3 separate regions of the Homo sapiens genome follow, and regions 1 and 2 are each linked to region 3. Evidence: promoter capture Hi-C in 16 types of primary human blood cells and fetal thymus (Javierre and others, 2016). All regions are on one chromosome and are shown on one strand. The core of a region is centred on a gene start or on the middle of the fragment in contact, and the rest is flanking DNA. Distances in the headings are between cores, read along the strand shown.

Evidence for each region. The method cuts DNA at HindIII sites, captures the fragments that hold promoters and counts their contacts. A CHiCAGO score of 5 or more calls a contact.
Region 1: a contact is called between the fragment with the promoter of ALG2 here and the fragment with the promoter of RAD23B in region 3, in 1 of 17 cell types (naive CD4 T cells). The highest score is 5.5, in naive CD4 T cells.
Region 2: the fragment with the promoter of RNF20 here is called in contact with the fragment with the promoter of RAD23B in region 3 in 4 of 17 cell types (total CD8 T cells, activated CD4 T cells, naive CD4 T cells and 1 more); the score reaches 9.4 in total CD8 T cells.

What each region holds. Positions count from the first base shown.
Region 1 is chr9:99,219,365-99,224,371 of GRCh38, reverse strand. It overlaps ALG2 (ALG2 alpha-1,3/1,6-mannosyltransferase), which reads left to right and starts at 2,430. Exons shown (of 2, transcript NM_033087.4): 1 at 2,430-2,825. The coding sequence starts at 2,478. It overlaps SEC61B (SEC61 translocon subunit beta), which reads right to left and starts at 2,090. Exons shown (of 4, transcript NM_006808.3): 1 at 2,006-2,090; 2 at 1,729-1,826. The coding sequence starts at 2,008. RefSeq lists an enhancer at 2,021-2,340. The HindIII fragment of the contact is 2,183 bases long and covers 1,201-3,383 here.
Region 2 is chr9:101,531,810-101,536,171 of GRCh38, reverse strand. RNF20 (ring finger protein 20) reads right to left here and starts at 2,319. Exons shown (of 20, transcript NM_019592.7): 1 at 2,258-2,319; 2 at 620-774. The coding sequence starts at 748. It also overlaps a transcript of PGAP4 not described here. RefSeq lists an enhancer at 2,448-2,577. The HindIII fragment of the contact is 1,893 bases long and covers 548-2,440 here.
Region 3 is chr9:107,280,615-107,285,071 of GRCh38, reverse strand. RAD23B (RAD23 nucleotide excision repair protein B) reads right to left here and starts at 1,793. Exons shown (of 10, transcript NM_002874.5): 1 at 1,377-1,793. The coding sequence starts at 1,442. RefSeq lists a silencer at 1,255-1,814 and an enhancer at 2,305-2,464. The HindIII fragment of the contact is 9,258 bases long and covers 1-4,457 here.

The DNA of each region.
Region 1 (5,007 bases), core at 1,181-3,680, 8.1 Mb after region 3:
TAAAACCCAGGGTGGGAAGGGGACAGCACTCAAAGCCCATATAAGTTAAACCACAGCCTGATACACTCCTCATGAACATCCCAATGACAGGGAACTCAAAATCATTCAGGATAATTTTACATTTCTGCCAGTTCTATTAGAATGTCTTTGTTCTGATGTGAAATATTTCATGTAAGTTCAAATCATCAGTTTTAGATTTACCTGTTGCAGCCAGAAAATGTCACATCCCTCTTCACATCCTTCAGAAGTTTCCATGCATGTGTTCAAGATTTTTTCCTCCCTAGATAAAACCCCACTAGTTCCTTCAAAAATCCCAAAACAACTTGGTTGCTTGATTCCTTCCTTCAGTCATTATTTATTGTGTCATGCCTTATGGTGGGTACCTGGGATAGAAATGACTTGAGCAGGTTCTCTGTTAAAGTCTAATGAAGGAGATAAATATGGAAACATCACTGGTCTTATAATGATATGAACAAAATGCTATGGGGGCAAAAGGGAAAACTAGTAGCTACTGCTGCTTACAGACAGAGAAGGCCTCAAGAGGAAATAACCCCTGAGCTTAGTCTTGGAAAATAAGTAGAAATTTGCCTTGAGATGAGGGAGAAAGTTTGTGAATTCAGAAAACAGTAATGGGTTCACGAGTGCTGGATCATAGGACAGCAAAGAAAGATTAGGCTGAAGGCCGGGCGCAGTGGCTCACGCCTGTAATTCCAGCACTTTTGGAGGCAGAGACGGAGGATCACAAGGTCAGGAGATCGAGACCATCCTGGCTAACATGGTGAAACCCCGTCTCTACTAAAAATACAAAAAATTAGCTGGGTGTGGTGGCACGTGCCTGCAGTCTCAGCTACTCAGGAGGCTGAGGCAGGAGAATTGCTTGAACTCTGGAGGCAAAGGCTGTAGTGAGCCGAGATCGTGCCACTGCACTCCAGCCTGGGCGACAGAGTGAGATTCCATCCCAAAAAAAAAAAAAGGAAAAAGAAAGGTTAGGCTGAAATGACCACTAAGAGCTTTGGTATCCCCCCGGTTTTTTTTTTTTGTTTGTTTGTTTTTTTTAGTTCAGCAACAAGTAACAGAAACTACGCAGAAGAGTAACAGCAGAGCGAACGATGGACTGGAAAGCAAACAGCCTGAAGAAAAGGGTTAAGTAGCAAATGCAAAGCAGTAGAAAGGGAAAAGGAAAGAGCTTATGAGAAAGCTTTCAAGCAGAGTTTAAAGTCTGGCATATGACTAGAGAGAGAAAGAGCATAAGAAAAATCCAAGATGACGCTGACGTTTCTGGCTCTGAGTAAATGAGTGTACAACAGTGCCATATGGAAGTAAGGAGATATAATTGAGAGTGAGAGAGCTGAGCTGAAAAGAGACTAAGTTTTGTGTAGGACGAGTTATCTGTAGGACAGATTGCTTATGGGGCCGCCAGATGGAAATGTGAGTGCAAACCTCAGGTCCAGAGACACCAGTTTAATGACATCGGTTTTCTCAAAGTTATCTCTGACTCTATTCCAGTTTGTTAACTTTCCTTTTTTAAGAGTAGTGCCCTAAACTGAGCAACGAGAAAAAAAATGTCGCCTTCCTCCCAAAAGGCCTTTAACTACTCCCACGGCCACGTCACTAGAAGCTCATTTTGCCTTTGTCAATCTTCACATGCTAGGGTCTCCACCCCAGAATCAGCGAGGTTCTGGGTCCTATCTCCGAGTCTGGAAGCGAACGAACTGCAGGGTTCCTTACCTCTGCCGGACAGTGGATCCCGCCGCCCGGGCGGCCACTGCTTTGCTGGGAGAGCGCCCTGAGGATCCCACGTTAGTGCCACTGGGGGTCGGACCAGGCTGTAGAGGGAGACAAGCAGACAGACGGGTGAGCGCGGCAGGCCTGCCCCAGAACCCCGGCCTAGACACCCACACCCGAGGCTGGGGGAAGCAAGGGAGCTACAGAGGAAAAGCACGGCGCAAAGCAGGAGGAGTCAGGGCTTCTGGGAGAGGCGGGGATCATGGAAGGGCCGCCATACCATATTGGAGATGAGGGTGGCAAGGCGCTGACGCGGACGGATAGAAAGTTACGGAGCCCCCGAAAGACCGGCAGCTGGCGAGACTGACTCAGGCCCCGCCCCCGGACTTGCAGGCAAGGTCCTCTCTGACCCCAGGGACGCCTGGGTCGTCTCACGATATGCCTGTAGACAGTCTGCTACAGACAACTTAGTTACCTGCTGTATGGGAAGTAGAGACCTCCGGCCTCCTTCCTTTGGATCACAACGTCCTTCAGAAAGTCCAATCCCTACCGAAGGAAAAATATAACCGGGGTCAGACAAGATATTTTCTCAGGCAGTTACTAGACCCTCACAGATTTGCGCTGATGTGGCCTAACTGACGCACGTACGGCAGGGCGGGGTCGGCCCGCAGTGGCCAGCTGGGAGCTACGAGCGCGGAGCTTGCGCAGAAGACCCCCATCAGGGTGCGGGGTGCAGTTGCGGCTCCAGGGCCATGGCGGAGGAGCAGGGCCGGGAACGGGACTCGGTTCCCAAGCCGTCGGTGCTGTTCCTCCACCCAGACCTGGGCGTGGGCGGCGCTGAGCGGCTGGTGTTGGACGCGGCGCTGGCGCTGCAGGCGCGCGGGTGTAGCGTGAAGATCTGGACAGCGCACTACGACCCGGGCCACTGTTTCGCCGAGAGCCGCGAGCTACCGGTGCGCTGTGCCGGGGACTGGCTGCCGCGAGGCCTGGGCTGGGGCGGCCGCGGCGCCGCCGTCTGCGCCTACGTGCGCATGGTTTTCCTGGCGCTCTACGTGCTGTTCCTCGCCGACGAGGAGTTCGACGTGGTAGTGTGCGACCAGGTGAGGCGGCCGCGGGGCCGGCTGCGCGAGTGCGGACCTCGCCGTGGAGGGCGGCCGCGGGCATGACCCCTGAGAGAAGACCTTCCCTGTCTGCGGTTCGCAAAGATCGGAACTGACATGGAGAAGTCAGGGTTGTGAGCGAGCCTGTGGTTCTCTAACTTTAGTGTGGGCCCATTTAAAGTTGCAGATTGCTGGGGTTCCATCCTCCAGGAAGTTTTCATCCAGGTGCCCTGAGGTGGGGCCCAGACATCTGCATTTTAACTGGGTCATAGGGTGATTCCGAGGTAGATAGTCTTTGGGGCTCTGAGAAACGCTGGTATTAGAAGTCAGCTTCAGTCACCTTTTACTAATGAGTAACTCGCGTGTTGTCTTCCCGCTTACCTGTTATTTTTGTTGACTCTCCTTTCAGGCCATTTGCATCCCACTGTCCTTGTGTTCGGAGCCAGGCCACACCGTCCTCAGCAGTGTCATGTGTTAAAAACGCCAAGCTGAATATATCATGCCCCTATTAAAACTTGTACATGGCTCCCCATTGGTTTTTGGAGAAAAGTTCAAGCTTTTTACCTTGGTAAATAATGTCCACCTGGATCTGCCCTGTAGCTATTCTTGACTCTTTCCTTCGTGCATTTTTCCCCATCCTAAAAAAGATGACTTTAAAAAGTAACATTTACTCGATTAAAAATTTAGTAGTATAGAAGGATGTAACCTAAAAGCCCCGTCCTATTCTACTCCCTGAAGATAGCCACCGTTAAGTTTCTCTTGTATTTTTTCAGAAGTTGTGGTGACACCAGCCTGTGTCTTTTCATAGGTATATCTATATCTTCTTATTGGTACATAATTGGTATTATGACATACCTACTATTAGGCATCTTTTTCAGCAAAAATTTATTTATTTATTTATTTATTTTGAAACGGAGTCTTGCTCTGTCTCCCAGGCTGGAGTGCAGTGGCGCGATCTCGGCTCACTGCAACCTCCGCCTCCAGAGTAGCTGGGAGTACAGGTGCGCGCCCCACGCCCGGCTAATTTTTTCTATTTTTAGTAGAGATGGGGTTTCACCATGTTGGCCAGGCTGGTCTCGAACTCCTGACCTCGCGATCCGCCCACCTCGGCCTCCCAAAGTGCTGGGATTACAGGCATGAGCCACTGCGCCCAGCCGGGACATTCTTATGTATCAATATTAGAGATTCACTTCATTCTTCATAGTGGCCAGAAAATCCACTTTTGTTTAAGTGTGTCATAATTAAACATTCTCCTTAAAGGACACTAATGTTGTGACTAGTTTTTTGTGAATAGATCAGTGTTGTAATGAACATCCTTTTACTTCTTTTTTTTAAAATATTTTTGTACTTCTGCAAATATGTCGTTTGAGGAAATTCCTAAAGTTGGTGGGTCTAAGAGTTGTTCATTTTAAATATCAATAGCTACTGCCAAGTTTGCCTACCAAGGAGGCTGTGTCACTTTACTCCCCCACAATGTATGATAGAGCCTCTTACTCCATGCTTTTGTCCGCCTTGGATATTAACCATTTTAAACTTTGCCAAACTGATAGGTGCAGATGGCATCACATTTGTATTTGTGTTTCTTTAATTATGACTCCTGAGTTACTTTTGATCATCCTTGCTTGCATGGAAGCTTTCTTTTTAAGTAACGTGGACATTTACCAAACATCCTGCATGTGTCAGTAGACATGAGGCAGCTGAGACTATAGTGGGTAGAGGAAAAATTATTGGCTTGGAAATAGGCATCTTGGATTCAAGTTCCGTATCTACTGCTTTAATTAAGTGGCTTTGAATAAATTGCACATTATCCCTAAAGTTACCTTCTTCAGGTTTTAAGTTAGCTGAGACTAAAATGACTTGTAAAGATTACCCAACAAGAAAGTCTGTAGTAATGCCAGCATGTAGTTCATGCTCAATGATGACTAGCTTTAATATTTATTGAGCACATACTGTGTGCTAAACTCCATGTGTTTTGCATATATCAGTGCATTTAATAATCACAAAAAGTATATGGGTTTTTTGAACTATAATTTGTCACCATGTTACAGAAGAGGAAACTAAGGCCCAGAGTGGGATAAATTACTTGATCGTGGCCAGTTAGTAGAGCTGAGATTCAAACCCTGGCAGTCTTGAATCTAGAGCTTGTGCTCTAAACTACTATAGTTCATTCATTCAGTTCCTT
Region 2 (4,362 bases), core at 1,070-3,569, 5.7 Mb after region 3:
GTTATGCACCATTATATTATCTAGCCCAATATTAGCTATGAATGCCTCCCATTTATTGACTATTTACTATATTAAATGCAAAGTGTTAGCCCTTAACAGGGACTCTTATTTTATATGCATAAAAATCTAATGTAGCAGGTACTCTAATTACATTTTACAGACAAGAAAACAGGCAAAGGAAGGATAACACAAGGTCAGCCAGCTAGGAAGTGGTACAGCTCAGAGTCAACTCCAGGCAATCTGGTCTCAGACTCTCACTCTTCACCATACTCTCAATGATTGCTAAACTGTCTCTTAGAATCTGGTACTGACTTTTTCAGTGAATGAAAAATAAATGTGTATCTTCCCACTGCTAAATACCTATAGTTAATGTTGTATCAGGCACCACCTTCCCAGATTCTCGAAAGAATATAAGTACACCTTGAAAACAAAGAACAACTATCAATCTACCTCTCCTCTAGAACTGACTACCACATCATTTTACCTACTTTCAGCCTGTTTTATTTCCCTCTTCTTTTCAAATAGCTTCCCCATACTCCAGAAAGCTTCCATGAATTTTTAGTTTCAAGTTGCAACTGACAGAAGACAAGCACACTTTCATGGCACTGTTTCCTCATACCGTTGAAGAGACACCTCCTAGCTTAATTGTTTCCACTGTGGTCCCTGAATCTTCAACAGCTGCCTTCTTCTCAGGAGGCATGGAGGTGCCAGGTTCTCCAGCTGCTCTTTTATTTCCAATTCCTGACATTTTGGCAGAAGAAGACAGTCGTTTTCCTGATAGAAAAAAAGGCAGAAACTGACATAATATATGTAAGCAAAGCAACAATAGAGTAAAACAATAGAGTAAAAACTAGCAACTTTTCTGGCCAACCCTTTAACCTGGATCCATTAATTCCACAACCATCTCCATATTTCTCTTTGAGGAAAAAAAAAAAAAATTAAATTGTAGAGTAAAAGTCAAGGCGGGCCGGGCGCGGTGGCTCATGTCTGTAATCCCAGCACTTTGGGAGGCCGAGGCGGGCGGATCAAGAGGTCAGAAGATCGAGACCATCCTGCCTAACACGGTGAAACCCCGTCTCTACTAAAAATACAAAAAATTAGCCAGGCGTGGTGGCGGGCGCCGGTAGTCCCAGCTACTCGGGAGGCTAAGGCAGGAGAATCACTTGAACCCGGGAGGCGGAGCTTGCAGTGAGCCGAGATCGCACCACAGCACTCCAGCCTGGGCAACAGAGCGGGACTCCGTCTCAAAAAAAAAAAAAAAAGAAAGTCAAGGCTAAATTTACATGACTATAAATTTCTAAATAGGATGGTGATAAGAATGGTGATAAGAAATGAGACAATGGGCAAAGGGTGAAGAGACCAAAAATAAAGTTCTGGAATCTCTCTTCCTGTAATGCCAAAATCAGAAAAGGGCAGTTTGATTATGCCAGAAGTTAATACTACAGTGTTGAAAGAATCACAGAGCTGAAAGAGATCTGTGAAATGCCTACTAAAGTCATTAGTACTAGACAAGTCAGTTATCATCTCTAAGCCTCAGTTTCCTAACCCAGGAATAAATAACCACAGTATATACTTCCTATGCTTATTATAAAATAAAATGGATGATATAATTATAGAAAGAATTTGGCACAAAGCCGAACACAAAGTAAGCACTCAGAAACCCCAGCTCTTCTTTAACGTTTGCAGTGTTTTCCCTATTTCCAAACGCTCTCTCCACTGTTTTATGCAACCCTACGTTAGTTAGACCTGGGTGCGAATTTCAGTTCTGCCTGTTAGAGGCCGTGTTGCTTTGAAACAGTGAATTCGCCAAGAGCTTCAGTTTCCTCAACTGCACAATATTAACGAATATATTTTTCGTCTGCCCTGCCTACCTCCCAGGGTGCTCAAAGGAGGCGGAATGGATGCTAAAGCACTTTGGCTACTTCAGGAAACAACGCAGCCATCACCGAGACTAACAAGACTACTCTGCTTCCAATTCAAGCTCCAGGAGAGGACTATCGCTGGCAACAACCTCAGTAGGACCTCGCCTGGAGAGAGAAGACACAGAAGCAGAACAAGGCTGCAATCCAACTCGCTAAAAGCCAAAGACCTCAGCCTCAGCGTGGATAATTGCAGGCCCAGGAGACTGACGGCCCCAAAACTGGAGAGGGTGGAGACTCCTGAGGCCTGGCACAGTCCTGTTGGGCCCTAAGCGTGATCTAACCTAAGTTCTTTGAACTGGCGCCGCGCGGGAACAGAACTCGCAGCAGTTACTCACCAAGGCCCGTGCAGAGATTCCAGCTCTCACCCCTGACCCGCGGCGGAGACAAGGCAGAACTTCCGGGAGGCGGGGCCACGGAGAGGAAAAAGGGAAAGAAAAAAGGAAGTGGCTTCAACCCAGCCCATAGGACTATGAGACCCCGCCGGGCGGAAGTGACGTACGGAGAGGGCACGAGAAGCTTGAGCAAGCGCCGCCTCCCTAGCAACGCTGGGCAAGCGCGGGACCCTCTCCTGGCTACGACCTCTAAGAGTACTCGGGCCTCGCTGATGCCTGACGGAGAGCCCTTGGCTTTTGTTGACTTGTTGACCTTTGCTACTGCGATCTGGTCTTTCTGCGGGGATAAAGTTCCTCATTCTGTTGCTTGTCATTGGGGTTGCCATCACTCGTTCAGACGGCCGATTGGCTGACGGTCCCGTCAATCTCCGGGGACATGACTAGCCTCAGACACCTCAGAAAATTGTTCGTTGGTACCCCTACGTGCTGAAATGAAGAGTTCTGGAGAGAATCTGAGGGATTTGAGGAATTTCAGATGTTGGGGATTTTTTCCCCCGCACAGGGAGCGGTATTCTGCCCTGTCTACACATTAGAATCACTTGGCCTGGACAAAAGCTTTTTTAAAAAAGCGTTCCCCTCATCTCCTCCCCCCAAACCCCGCATTTCCATCCACTAGATTCTAATGCGTAAGCAGGAGTGACAACTACTGCCCTTGTGCTTTTTTGGGAACAAGAAATTGTCCAGGGAAAAGATAAACGCCAATCAGTCTCTGATCTCAGTACTAGTCTATTTTAAGCTAATTAAGCATTGATTTTTTTTTTTAAGTTTATGACAAACTGCTATTTTCCATTCAGTTAAACTAAATGCGTTTTAATGATAGGACGGTAATTAATCTAACCTATTAATGAAAAGCTGTATGTCTCGCAGAACTATGATAAACTACCTAATGACGTCAGCTAAGGGTCTAGAAATGGAAGAATGATCGCTATATCTTTTTTAAAAAATAGAATTTAGGCATCTTGGGAAAAAAAGAAGCTAATCTACACTGGATTTCTGTTAGTGTGAAGACTTTTGTCCCTGTACCTGCTAGGGCTTACCTGTAAATGAAGTAAGATGGTCAACACCAGGGAAACAAGTGTTCCTGGTGCCTGGCAGTGGAACACCTTGACTATCTTGGAAAGAATTAACTGGCCCCAAGTGGACTTCACATTTCATTCCGTGAAGTGGGAGCCTGAGAACATGTGAGTGGGGACACACCTGCCGAAAAGCATTGTATGAGACAATGACACTCATTCTCTCATCTTCTTTGGTTCCTCTACTCTTAGCAAGCCTTTCATTCATAGAACTACTGAATGGCAAGTAATGGTTTTTCTAGCCCAGAAAACTAGAGGTTCACAGACTGCATTTAGCCAACAGTTATGCTTTGTTTATTTTAGACAGTATTGGCTGTCCTGCGTGGTTAAAAACAAGAACAAAAATGAACTTAGTTGCCAACATTTAAAATATGGCTATTTTACATAAAAATCCAAATTATCAGTTTCTCTAAAAAATGTTGATGATCTTGCAACAGAAGGGTTATATTTTTGCATGGTCACATTGCTTAGAGCAAAGTAGTGGCTTCTTCTTTTTTTTTTTTTTTCTTTTTTTCGAGACAGAGTCTTACTCTGTCACCCAGGCTGGAGTGCAGTGGCACAATCTCGGCTCACTGCAAACTCCACCTCACAGGTTCAAGCAATTCCCATGCCTCAGCCTCCCAAGTGGGTGGGATCACAGGCACACGCCACCACACCTGGCTAATTTTTGTATTTTTAGTAGAGATGGGGTTTCGCCATGTTGGCTAGGCCGGTCTCAAACTCCTGACCTCGGACGATCCATCCACCTCAGCCTCCCAAAGTGCTGAGATTACAGGCCTGAGCCACAGCTACTGGCAATGAGCCACCACGCTTGGCGTGGCTCTCTTTTATTAATAGATCATGTTATTCTTGTTTACCATAATCCCCACTAATCTTTACTGGTTCCTTAGCACTAGTATAGTTTAATTTGAGTATCATCACTTGTGTGTTACATTGTGATAAATCAATTGCTGGTACTACGTAAGTGTCTGGTGG
Region 3 (4,457 bases), core at 544-3,043:
TGTACCAAAATCCCAAAAAGGCTGTTTCTTAAAAAATTAAAGATGTACAAAACTTAAGATTAAATGAGATAAGTAAAACGTAACACTGTATCTCCACTCAAAGGAATCCATTGTTTAAATAATCGATTCCATTTACTGACCACCAAGTAAATACATACCATCTAATCTTCACATCTCTGCAAGGCAGGTATTATCCCTATTATACAGAGAATGAAACTAACCGTAATTTGCCCAAGGTCATAGCAAATAAGTTACAAAACCACAAATGGAACTCAGGTCTACTTAACACCAAAGCCCCTGATCTCCACCCAAAATAGAATCAACTACTTTTAAAAATAGAGTTGGGCAGAAAGCTGCTGGTTTAAACTTAGTATTATGACAATCTTGGCGGTGTATTTCCGAACATAAGCAGTAAATTTACACTCACAGCGTTTTTAGATTCTTGGCATAAAGTTGTACTGACCTCAACAGTGTCTCTTTATGCAGTCACAAATACAGAAAAATGTATAATGTGGACTTCTGAAATGTTTAAGGCTTTAACTGCAGAAAGGATTCAAAGTTGTTGTTTTTTGTTTTTTTTTTCTTTTTTCCCCCTTGAACTGCTACTGTTTGGGGCATCGGGGGAGGGTGGCTGCAGCGTTCCAACTCCTACAATTCCAAGATTTCTAACACAGAAAACCCGTTAAATCTGAAGTTTAGTTTGAGCCTGGATGGCTGTGAAGAGCTCTAACAGCTAAAACCATCACCAAAGAGGCCTCAAAGTGCAATCTACGCAAGGGTGTGGGTTTGGTGGCGGGAGGAAGGCAGCAGAACGATTCATTTGCAAATAAAAGGGTAAACAATTCTGAGGGGAAAGGGGCAAATTCATTTTCACCACCACTCACCTCTCGGCGGCAAACGGAACCTGATACTTTTTTTTTTCTTAAGGCTCATCTTCTCGGGTTACCAACTCTGGGAACTAAGCGGCTAACCAGGTCCACACAGGGGTAGTGGCGACGCCTACGTCTCCCTCCCCCACCTGTGCACCCATACCAGAAAGCCAGGCTCTACGGCTGAGACGGCCTGGACCTTCCCATCCCCCTCCGGCCCCGCTAGCACGAGCTCCTAGGCCCAGGCCCGCGGGCGTGCGCTCCACGCCATCTGCCACCAGGCCTTCGGCGTCCGGCCACTGCTTCCCCATTCTCCTGCCACAAAGCCCACGGCCAAGACAGGAGGATCGGCTCCGCTGTACGCCGCCAGGGCCGGCACCAGGACCCAGGGCCCTCATCGCGCCCTCCGGGGCTTCCCCCGCTGGAGCGCGCCGCCCGGCCCCACGAGCTCCTGGCGCTCCCCGCGGCCCGCACGCGGCTGCCCCTGCCCCCGGCCCGCGCGCATACCGTCTCCTCGGGGTCAATGTCTATCTTGAAGGTCTGCTGCTGGAGGGTCTTCAGGGTGACCTGCATGGTGCCGCCGCGCAGCTCGGCTGCCGGGCCTGCGCCGGGTGCTGGCCGCTGGGCGGGGTCTGTGGCCTGGCGGGGCCCCGGGGTCGCCCGCGCTCCTCGCGCTCTGGGGAGGAAGGCGGTGGGGGTGGGGGCTTGTCACATTCGCCCAGCGGAGCGGCCTCTCCCCCAGCCCGTGCCCCGGACCGCGCCGCTGCCTCCGCGACTGCGGCCTTCCCCGCGAACTCGGGCCGCCGTGCTTCCTCACGCGCCGAGCGCCAGCCACGGAGTCTGCAGAAGGCGCGAGGGGGTCGGCGAGACAAGCAGGGAATCCGCTAGCTCACCACAGGATGGTGGCCGCCATCATCGTGACTCGCCGAGACGTGCCCCCTCCCCCACGCGAAAAACCTGGGGGGATGGGGCCGGGCGGGCGAAGCGCGCAGGCGTGGGGTGCGGCGACGCTTTGCGCCGGCGCGGCCGAGGACTCCGCCCCAGAATTGGGGGCGGGGCGGAAGGCGGTCCTGGAATGTCGGCGGCCTGGACCCGGATTACGCAGGCGCGTTCCGTGGGCGGCAAGGGCTCCTGGGGCTTCCTCCTAGCGACTATTGCTGGGGCGTTCTCTCCGGCTGCCGCGGCTCCGCCTCTGTGCAGGCTCCGCCCGGCTGCCGAAGTTACGCAATGTGTAGCCCGGGAAGCGCTTCGTGGAGACCCGGCAGAGTGGATGCGGAGCCCTGGAGCGGGGGAGTAATCGGGGCGGAGTTTAAGTGAAAGGATGGCGGTAACCACAGTCTGGGGGCCAGCACCCGCGGGGCGCTTGCTGCGGGGCTCAGCCCTGGGGGTGTCGACTGATTCTTTAATCCCGACAGCACAGACTCCTGAGCTGGACTGCCCGAGTTCAAATATTGTTTTTTCTCACTAGCCTAAACAGATGGACCGATTTAAAATGAAGGTCAAGTTCTGTCACACCTCGGGGTAGAACTGTCCAGTGTTTCCCCATCTAGCCCCGAGTTAAAGTCAGAGTTATTAGAACGGATGCATTAGCCCCTCGCCTTTCTCCGAGTCGCCTTACTCTCCCCACTGGTGGATTCTAGGTTGCCCCCGGCTCCCTTAACATCCTTGCTCAGATATTGCCTTCTTGGTGAGGTCTGTTCTGGCTGCCTTACTTAAAATCCCAACTTCCTATCTCTGTTATCCTGCTCTGTTTTCTTGTATAGCGGGTATCCCTTTATAATTACCCTGTAATGTACGTATCTCTTGTTTATCATCTTTCTCCTTTTCCTGTGAACCCCAGACTGAAGCTGCACAGAGGCAAAGATTTTGCTGTGTTCACCCATGAACATGCCTGGCACATTGCAGGTGCACGGTAAATATTTGTGGAATGGGTGAATGTGCTTCTGGATCCTCAGCAGTAGAATGAGAATAATAATGTCACTCATTGATTATTGGAGGGGGAAGTTGAATATTGTATGTAAAATCATGATAAACAGTCTGTAAGCAGTTAGCTATTAGTAGAAAGTCCGTTTACAGATAGAAAACTGAAGTACAGAGATGTTGAGTAATGCACCTGGAATAACCCAGCCAGTAGTAAATGGCAAATCCACAATGTGACCTCAGACAGAATGACTCCAGAGTCTGTGTCCCAGGGTGTGCCACTATTCCCCTGTTTTTTGTTTTAAAGATTATTCTTATTTTTTTAAAGCGTCTGACTGTCATCCACGCTGGAGCGCTGTAGCACAAACACGGCTCACTGCAGCGTCAACCTCCTGAGCTCAAGAGATCCTTCCACCTCAGCCTCTTGAGTAGCTGGGACCACAGACACACACCACTGCTTCCCAGCTGATATTTTATTTTTTTGTACAGATATGTTCTCCCTATGTTGCCAGGGCTGGTCTTGAACTCCTGGGCTCAAGTAATCCTCCTGCTTCGGAGTCCCAAAGTGCTGGGATTATATGTGAGCCATCGCTCCCAGCTATTCTCCTCTGTTTTATACTGTGCCTGTGGCACATTTGATTTAGTTCAAGTATAAAACACAGTTCTAGTCAGGCCACTAGCTCTATGACCAATTACAAATTACTTCTCTGGGACAGCATCCTCACTAATACAATGTCACTGCTTGGTTTTCAGTGGCTTCAAGGAGCTTGGGTTTAATGTTTTCAAGAAACTTTCCTTGACCAGCTTCTCCCTCCACTAACCTGATATTTCCCCTTTCACAACACATAACTCCCTTCATAGTAATTAAATATGCAATCTTCTGCCCTCTGTCTTCCTGTATCTACTCGTAGTCACCAGGTGGTTTCATCTTGGCCCTTGTTTTGAAATACCTCCAGCCTGGACCTTTCCCCTTAGCTATAGAGTTAGCCAATTGCCTAAGCAATATCTTCACCTGAATATGTAACAAGCCTCTGAAACTTAATGTGGCCAAAGAGAACAATTGATTTCTCTCTGGACCTCCTTCCCCCCTGCAAACTGCCCCTCTCCCAGTTTTCCCCCATCTTAGTTTATGGCCTCACAGTCTACCCAGGTGCTCAGACCAAAAATCTGGTCTTCATCCCTGATAACTCTCTTCCCTCACTCACCCACTCCCAACCACCACATGCAATTCATTATCAAGCCCTGTCAACCTTATTCTCCAAAGTATATCCCCAAGTCAGCCTTTTTTCACCGTTTCTACTTCTACAGCCCTAAGCTAATCCATCATTATCCTTCACCTGCGTCCCACCTGGTCTCTCCGCTTCCACCCTTTACCCCCAACAGCCTCCCCAGCAGCCAGAGTGGCCTTTTAAACCCATAAATCAGAGCATGTTGTATCTATGCTTAGTATCTCATTACATTTTAGAATAAAAGTCAAACTCTTTACGTGGCCTTGGAGAGCCCACATGATCTGACTCCTGCCAGTTTCTCTGACCTCATCTCTTTCCTTCTCTCACCCACTCATTCACTGTCATCCATTTCCCTTTCAACCCTCAAACAGGTTAAGCTGGTTCTAGCCTCAGGGCCTTTGCACTTGAGGTTCCTTCAGCTTGAAACTCTATCTTCCCA